Linked DNA regions of Homo sapiens: region 2 is linked to region 1. Evidence: promoter capture Hi-C in human tissues and cell types (Jung and others, 2019). All regions are on one chromosome and are shown on one strand. Each heading gives the region's core, a stretch centred on a gene start or on the middle of the fragment in contact. The rest is flanking DNA. Distances are from core to core; before and after follow the strand shown. Region 1 holds the start of C1orf167 (chromosome 1 open reading frame 167). Region 2 overlaps MTHFR (methylenetetrahydrofolate reductase).

Region 1 (4,559 bases), core at 1,269-3,768:
ACGCACCACCACTACCAAGCTAATTTTTATATTTTTAGTAGAGACGGGGTTTCGCCATGTTGGCCAGGCTGGTCTGGAACTCCTGACCTCAAGTGATCCACCCACCTTGGCCTCCCAAAGTACTGGGATTACAGGCGTGAGCCATTGCATCGGGCCTAACCATCCCCCTTTTACATATGAGGAACCTTAGGTTTAGAGAGGTTAGGGACTTGCCTAAGATCACACAGCAGCAGAAGGATTTTTTTTTTTTTTGAGACAGGGTCTCACTCTGTTGCCCAGGCTGGAGTGCAGTGACATGATCGTAGCTCACTGAAGCCTTGAACTCCTGGGCTCAAGCAATCTTACTGCCTCAGCCTCCCAAGTAGGTGGGACCACAGGTGTGCACCACCACAGCCGGATGATTTTTGTATTTTTTTTTGTAGTGATGAGGTCTTGCAATGTTGCCCAGGCTGGTCTTGAATTCCTGGGCTTATGAGAGCCTCCCACCTCAGCCTGCCCAAGTGCTGGGATTGCAGGTGTGAGCCACTGCGCCTGGCCAGCAGAAGGAGTTCATCACAGGTTTTCTGACTGAGTGCTCTTTCCTCTCCCAGCAGGTGCTTAGAAAGGAGAAAACATACAGTCTGGACAGAGGAAGGAGTGGGATGGCTGGGCACAGTGGGGAACAATGTGGGCAAAGGTTTGGGAGGTGGAAAGTGGACGGACCTTTGCAGCCTTGAAGGAAGTGTGATCGAGCTAGGCTGACGGCACGGCAAAGCTTGGGTATTAAGGTGGAGTCCAGCCAGTTTCTGAGGTGCCTGAAGGCTGGGAGAGTTTTTCTTTCTTTTTTTTCTTTTCTTTTCTTTCTTTTTTTCTTTTTTGAAACAGAATCTCACTCTGTCACCCAGGCTGGAGGGTAGTGGCATGATCACCACTCACTGCAACCTCCACCTCCCAGGTCCAAGCAATTCTCCTGCCTCAGCCTCCTGAATAGCTGGGATTACAGGTGCACACCATCACACCAGCTACTTTTTGTATTTTTAATAGAGATGGGATTTTGCCATGTTGGCCAGGCTGGTCTTGAACTCCTGACCTCAAGTGATCCGGCTGCCTCGGCCTCCCAAAGTGCTGGGATTACAGGCATGAGCCACCACATCCAGCCTTTTCTTTTCTTTTCTTTTTTTCTTTTTTTTTTTTTTTTTTTTTTGAGACAGAGTCTTGGTCTGTTGCTCAGGCTGGAGTGCAATGGCAGGATCTTGGCTCTCTGCAACCCTTGCCTCCCAGGTTCAAGTGATTCTCCTGCCTCAGCCTCCTGAGTAGCTGGGATTACAGGTGCCCGCCACCATGCCCGGCTAATTTTTGTATTTTTAGTAGAGACAGGGTTTCACCATGTTGGCCAGGCTGGTCTTGAACTCCTGATCTTGTGATCCGTCCACCTCAGCCTCCCAAAGTGCTGGGATTACAGGTGTGAGCCACTGTGCCTAGCCTTTCTTTCTTTCTTTCTTTTAACAAGAAATTTGTTATAGTTTTATTTTCCTTTGCATTTGCAAAATACTTAGGACCAACATGAAAAAGAAATACCTTCTATGGGGAAAAAAATGGCATTAAAAAGGAAGATGGGAAGGCTGAAAGGGATTTGTGCCTTAGTTGCAAGGAGCTGCAGCATCTCTGGTCCAAGGAATCAAAAAGATATTGGGAAGATATAACAGGAGGAAGAAGAATGTGAATTTACTGAGGGAGAGGGCCCCAAAGTGGGCCTTGAGGGGGAACTGGAGGCCCCGGAGTGGGTCTGGGTGGAGGGAGAGTCCCCCCCGGAAGCCATAGGGTGGGTGTTGGGGAGGGCCAGTGTATCCATGAGGCAGCATCGGTGGAGGAGGTCCACACATACCATGGAGGCATAGGACGTGAGTGACCCATGGGAGATCCAGACCGAGACCCCTTGGGGGACATGCTCATTGGAGGAGGTCCAGGATGAGGCATTCCAGGTGGTGATCAGGGTGGTGGCTGCCCCCCAGATCCTGGGGTCCCATCACGGGTGTGTCCTCAGCCATGAGGGCCATGGTTTGCCAGCTGCATCTGAGACATCCCTGGATGGGACATCGCACCTATTGGGAACGGGTGAGGATGTGAGTGTCCATGACCCGGATGTCCTGCCCCTGGGGTTCCTACCAGTGGGAGCCGGGGGCATGTCCTGCAGCCCCAAGAGGCATAGGTGGTGGGGACATGGCTGGGGGTATCCCAGATGTGCGGGGGCTCCAGGAGGCAGCTCTAGGTGCGGGAAGGAGCCAAGAGGAGGCACGCCTGGTGGAGGAAGCCCAGACCCCAGTGATGCTGCCACAGGATTCGGGGCAGAGGGTGGAGGAGGTTCCCGGGGACCTGATGGCCAAGAGAATGTCGCTCATCTTGCACGTGCAAAAGTTGCCCTGGGACCACGTGCCTTGCCTGCGGAGGACCCGGCAAAACCTGTACCAGGACGTCGGTGGCCACGCCCACGGCTCAGGGCTGGGCGGGGCCAAGCGCGGGGCAGCACGCTCTGCTCTCCGACGTCCCCTCCCGCCCGCGACCTGCCGACCTGCGGGGATCGTTAGCGGTCCCAGCCCCCGTCTAGATTCAAATCCGACTGGGTGAAGGAGGACCCGAGGAGGACCCACGCACGTGAGGGCAGATCCATGAGGGCAGGAAACTGACCTCAGACTCTTTTGGTGGCAAGAGGAGGGAGGCTGTGAGCCCCCTTAAGTGGACAGGGGTGGGGGTGGAGTGGGAGGGGGGAGTCTGAGGGAGACGGACGAGGAGCGGAGAAATGGACCGAAGAGCTCCGGCGTGAGGGGCAGGGGTGCAGGAAGGTCTCCTGTGGATTGAGCGGCCTCAAGTCAACTTGGGCAAGAGGGGATGGTGGGGTGTTCTTGGTTAGGAGTCTGCGCTGTGGAGCCAGCCCTGGGGTGCTCCCTCTGAGGCCTTGGGTGGGACAGGCCCTTCTAAGCTCCTGTCCTCATTTCTAAAACAGGGAACCTAAGTCCCAGGGCTGCAGTGCAGATTAAATGGCAGGACGCCTGCTGAAGGCTGCAAGGTGCCTAGCACGGTTGTCATTTATTCAATGTGCATTTACAAGCCCCTGCTGGGGGTCAGGCATTGTTCTATGGGCTGCAAATCCAGCAGGGAAACAAACAAACAAAAAAAACCAGCCTGCCCTCGTGTGGCTCCTAGGCCACTGGAGGGAGAAATACACTAATTTCTTCACTATGTTAGGTGGCCGCAAGTGCAGGGCAAAGAGAGTGAGGAGAGGCCAGGTTGCTGCAGTTGGAGAGACAGTGGGCAGGGAGGGCTCACTGTGATGTGGGAGGCAAGACTTGAAGGCAGAGGGGACAGCAGCACAGAGGCGCTGAGGTGAGGTCGTGTGTGCCATTTGGAGGAGCAGCCAGGGGGCTGGTGTGTGTGGAGGACAGTGGGCAAGGGGAAGAGGAATTGGGGAGGACCATAACTGGCAGCCAGATTTTAAAGACTTTGCGGGGCTGGGTGTGGTGGCTCACGCCTGTAATCCCAGCACTTTGGGAGGCCGAGGCGGGCCAATCACCTGAGGTCAGGAGTTCGAGACCATCCTGGCCATCATGGTGAAACCCTGTCTCTACCAAAAAATAGAAAAATTAGTCTGGCGTGGTGGCATGTGCCTGTGGTTCCAGCTTGTTAGAGGCTGAGGTGGGAGGATCCCTTGAGCCCAGGGAGGCAGGCGGAGGTTGCAGTGAGCCGGGATCACGCCATTGTACCAGCCTGGGTGGCAAAGTGAGACTCCGGCTCAAAAAAAAAAAAAAAAAGGTTTTGCAGCCTAAGGTATCTTGCAGCTATTGAGCTCTGCTATTGCAGCTGGAAAGCAGACAGTCTGTAAACAAATGGGCTTTGTTTCAATATAACTTTATTCACATAATAGACCACTGGCCCAGGCAGTAATTTGCTAACCTCTGGCCTACAGCCTTGAAGGCTCACGGGGCATTGAGGGGGCTGGAGAGCTTCTGTGGCATTAGAGTTGAGGCAGGGCATGATTTGATTTCAGTGTTTACAGGATCACCCTGCCGCCGCATGAAGAGGAGGCTGTCGGGCGTGAGGACGAGGCAGAATAAGGGTGACCAGTTGGGAGGTGGCAGGTGAGGGCCACTCCGCCCAGTGCTCCAGGGGTCAGATCCTGGATGCGTGTGGGAGGCAGAGCCTGTCAGAGCAGCCACTGGTGTGAGGGAGAAGGGGAATCGGGGTGGCTCCAGGATTTTTGTTTGAGCCACCAGAAGGCCGGAGCTGCCATCCGTGGAAAAGGGGGGCACCAAGATGGGAGAGAGCTGGTTGCGAGGACGGCTGGAGTTCAGTTTTGGACATATTAATGCTGAGATGCCTGTTAGACATCCGGGTAGGCGTGGAGGAGGTCGCTGGACCTGCATGTTCAGACCTGTATGCAGATCAGCCGAGAGGTCTGGGGGGCAGGATGGGGCAGCATTTGACCTGGACACTTAATATGGAAAGGGGGGTGATAAGTAGGGCAGGGAGAGGAGCCACTGAGAGACCAGAACAGTGAGGGGCAGGCCCCAGGCAGCTGGGACCAG
Region 2 (4,304 bases), core at 365-2,864, 35 kb after region 1:
ACGCCAGGGCTCAAGCCATCCTCCTGCCTCAGCTTCTCAAGTAGCCGGGACTACAGGCACGTGCCACTATGCCCAGCTTTCCCACTTTTTACAGAGTAGAGCAGCTGCCCTAAGCATTCCAGCCTTGGGTTGAGCCAGCCTTTTAGCCCTAGATGTGTCTGTTGGTAACATGGTGTCATCTAACCCAGCTGTTCCCATGCTGCACTGATCATCCGAATCACCTGCCAAGCTCAAGAAGTAAAACACACATTCCGAGGACCTCCCTCAGATTTACTGAGTGAGAACCTCCAGGGGTGGGACCTGGAGATCCACTTTTTGAAAAAGCTTATCAAGTGGTTCTGATGACAGCCACCTTTGGGAAACACTGATTTAAGCAGGATTTGTAATGAGAATTAGAATCCCTTTTGGTGATGCTTGTTGGCCAAAGTACAACAAACCCCTCAACAGACACTGTTGCTGGGTTTTGGGGGGAAAATTAGAGGTAACCAAAATGGGGTGGCCAAGCAACGCTGTGCAAGTTCTGGACCTGAGAGGAGATCTGGGAAGAACTCAGCGAACTCAGCACTCCACCCAGAGCCCCCAGCCTGTGCGAGGACGGTGCGGTGAGAGTGGGGTGGAGGGAGCTTATGGGCTCTCCTGGGCCCCTCACCTGGATGGGAAAGATCCCGGGGACGATGGGGCAAGTGATGCCCATGTCGGTGCATGCCTTCACAAAGCGGAAGAATGTGTCAGCCTCAAAGAAAAGCTGCGTGATGATGAAATCGGCTCCCGCAGACACCTTCTCCTTCAAGTGCTTCAGGTCAGCCTCAAAGCTCCCTGCTTCGGGGTGGCCTTTGGGGTAACCTGCCAATAGGGATGACAGTCAGGAGAGGCTGGCCTCCACCTGTTCAAGGCGAGGGATGAAGAGACCACAGGGACTGGGCAGAGAGAGTCCTCTGCTTTGGGGGCTCTGATCTTGCACCTTCCAACAGCACAGCACAGCCTGAACTAAAACAGTGAGTGGCTGGGCTCATGACTGATATGCTTCTGACCCCAGAGATGACTCTCAGGGGAGGTGGCTCAGAGCCCAGTTCCAAGAGTGGGGGTGGATTGCTCCAAACTCCCACACTGTCCTGCCTTGAGCAGCCAAGCAAATCAGGCCTGCACTTGGTGGCCATAGAAAAGAGAAAATGCTACAGTTAGCACTGGCTGGGCAGCATCTGGGGTAGTAAGCTTGACTTTTCTCTAGGCACCGGATTAAACATTGTTTTTAATGTAACACTGAAATTACTCAGGGGTCCAAGATAGTGAAAAGCTAAAAACCAAGTTACACAAGGAAGAACTGAAGAAAGTGATGTTTTCTTCAAAGAAAATAATGGATGGCAGGGTGCGGTGGCTCATGTCTGTAATCCCAGCACTTTGGGAGGCCAAGGCAGGAGGATGACCTGAGGTCAGGAGTTCGAGACCAGCCTGGCCAACATGGTAAAACCCCGTCTCTACCAAAAATACAAAAATTAGCCAGGTGTGGTGGTGTATGCCTGTAATAGCTACTCAGGAGGCTGAGTCAGGAAAATTGCTTGAACCCACGAGACAGAGGTTGCAGTGAGCCGAGATCGTACCATTGCACTCTAGCCTGGGCAACGAGAGCGAAACTCCGTCTCAAAAAAAAAAAAAAAAAAAAGAATGAAAAGAATACAGAAACTCCTTTCAAATGTCCAAAGGTCTGTCCTGGGGAAAAAGGATCCACCATAGGTGAGTTTGTTTTGTTTTGTTTCAGAGACAGGGTCTTGCTCTGTCACCCAGGCTAGAGTGCAGTGATACAATCATGGCTCACTGTAGCCTTGAACTCCCGGGCACAAGTGATCTCCCACTTCAGTCTCCTGAGTAGCTTGGACTACAGATGCAAGCCACCACATCTGGCTAATTAAAAAAAATTTTTTTAATTAATTATTTATTTTTTAGAGATGGGGTCTTGCTATCTTGTCCAGGTTTGTCTGGAACTTCTGGGCTCAAGCAATCCTCCCACCTTGGCCTCCCAAAGTGCTGAGATTACAGGCATGAGCCACTGTACCCAGCCCCCTAGTGAAGTTCTTTATTAGTCATATTCTGTGTTGTTTCTAATGGCAGAACCAGCATCCGGTTCAGAGAGCTGGCTAGAGTACTATAAGCCACTCACAAAACAATGAGCTCCTGGAGTCTGAAAACACAGGGGCAGTGGATGCTGAAGACAAGATTCCAGAATTGCTTAGGAGGTGGGATCAGATGTCCCATAGGCTCCTTACTGGCTCTGTGAACTCTCTGACCCCTTTCCTCAATGACTAAACTTACTAGCCGCCTTGCTCGGTCAGGCAAGCAGGATGACCATAGGCCTTCATGAAACTACATGGAGTGCTGGTTTCATCAGCCCAAGCCCAGGGCAGGACTCTGAGCCAGGCGGAAGGCCAAGCTGCTTTGCTCTGATAAGGCAGTTCCGTTCTTAAGAAACCCAGAGTCATCAAAAAATGAATATAAAAACTATTGTTTCAAGGGGTAAGGGAGTGGGGGATAAAGCAATGGGGCTTCACACTTGCAATAACAAAGCTATTTTCCCAGTAGGAATTTCAGAAACAACAAGGCTTTTTAATAGCTGAAAAGTATAGCTACAATACCTAAATATCACCGAACAAATCTAGCATTTGATTACGTATAGATTTTGCTATTTACTCTATTTTTCTATCATGAACAGCTGAGGGCTTTCTTTTTTAAAATGTTTTTATTTTTTGTAGAGACACGGTCTCACTGTGTTGCCCAGGCTGGTCTTGATCTCCTGCCTCAGTCTCCCAAAGCTCTGGGATTACAGGCATGAGCTACCATGCCCAACAGGTTGGTGTTTTCTAATCCACTCATCTTCATTACCCACTTGATAAGCAAAGTAAGAAACCATTCAGCAACTGTGAGCTCACAGCTTCACTAGTTTCCAATCATTATCACCTAACGCCCATCACGGGTGCATATTCCCCCAGTAACTGACTATATAATGGCTGATACAAGCGATGACAATTTAACAGTTGGAAATGTCTGTTCTCTGACTCCTAATCAGTGCTTCCCAGACTTAGCACCTAAACACCCCTGTTGACAGAATGGACATGTCCATCGGGGGTTAGGGACAAGGCCAAAGTTACTCACAACATGTAATTTTCTTGAAGCCACGTGGTTTGTTTTTTGGGTTTTTTGTTTTGTTTTTTTTGAGACGGAGTCTGGCTCTGTTGCCCAGGCTACAGTGCATTGGTGCGATCTCGGCTCACTGCAAGCTCCGCCTCCTGGGTTCAAGCGATTCTCCTGCCTCAGCCTACCAAGTAGCTGGGACTACAGGCACGCGCCACCATGCCCGGCTAATTTTTGTATTTTTAGTAGAGACGGGGTTTCACTATGTTGGACAGGATGGTCTCAAACTCCTGATCTCATGATCCACCCGCCTTGGCCTCCCAAAGTGCTGGGATTATAGGCTTCAGCCACCGCACCTGGCCTTTTTTTTTTAGTTCATATCACTTTAGATGCTACTCCATAACATAGCCATGTTTAATATAAAAATGGTAGGATTTCTCCCAGAATATTGGCAAAAAAACTGTCATCCCAGAAAATGTGCCAATCCCGGGACTTCCTGTCCCTGGTGCACACTGTCTTGCCATACCTGAGCGCTGTCTGAGACGCTGAGGGCTCAATGCCAGCCTTCAGCTTCAAGGGTGGGAGAGAAGTCCAACCCACCCATTTCTGTTGGGGGAACCTGGTCTTGTGGCTGTGGCCAATGGTGATTCTCTTTCCTGGGAATTTGGAACGGAGGCCTGTCCATTAGCCTGGGGAACTGGCTGGAACTGACACTCTGCACACTCAGGAGCAGGCCAGGTGTGTGGAAAAGCATGGGTATCAGGTCTCCCAGATGAAGCACAGATGTGCAGTGGGAAGCGGAGATGGGGGACCCTGTGGCCCCAGAGGGAATGAGGGAGGGCCTTGCTTTTTGACCTCTTCCAGTGCCTTGTGAGGTCTGAGGCCATCTCCTGATCTTGGGTTCCCTGCCCTCTGGAATCCTGTTAGTAAATATCCCTCTTTTGTGGGGTGTTGTTTTTTTTTTTTTTTTGAGATGGAGTCTTGCTCTGCCACTGAGGCTGGACTGCAGCGGCACCATCTCGGCTCACTGCAACCTCCGCCTCTTGGGTCCAAGAGATTCTCCTGGCTCAGCCTCCTGAGTAGCTGGGACTACAGCCGTGCACCACCACACCTGGCTAATTTTTGTATTTTTAGTAGAGACGGGGTTTCGCTATGTTGGCCAGGCAGGTCTCAAACTCCTG

The links. The method cuts DNA at HindIII sites, captures the fragments that hold promoters and counts their contacts. A contact is called where the count stands out against the background at its distance.
Region 2: a fragment that was not itself captured here is called in contact with the fragment with the promoter of C1orf167 in region 1 in 3 of the 25 tissues and cell types used here (H1 embryonic stem cells, pancreas and spleen).

What each region holds. Positions count from the first base shown.
Region 1 is chr1:11,759,675-11,764,233 of GRCh38, forward strand. It overlaps C1orf167 (chromosome 1 open reading frame 167), which reads left to right and starts at 2,519. Exons shown (of 21, transcript NM_001010881.2): 1 at 2,519-2,631. It also overlaps the pseudogene LOC101060126. The HindIII fragment of the contact is 8,265 bases long and covers 205-4,559 here.
Region 2 is chr1:11,795,557-11,799,860 of GRCh38, forward strand. MTHFR (methylenetetrahydrofolate reductase) reads right to left here. Exons shown (of 12, transcript NM_005957.5): 5 at 650-843. Among named protein-coding and RNA genes, the nearest start is that of MTHFR, 8.3 kb to the right of the region's middle. The HindIII fragment of the contact is 7,275 bases long and covers 1-4,304 here.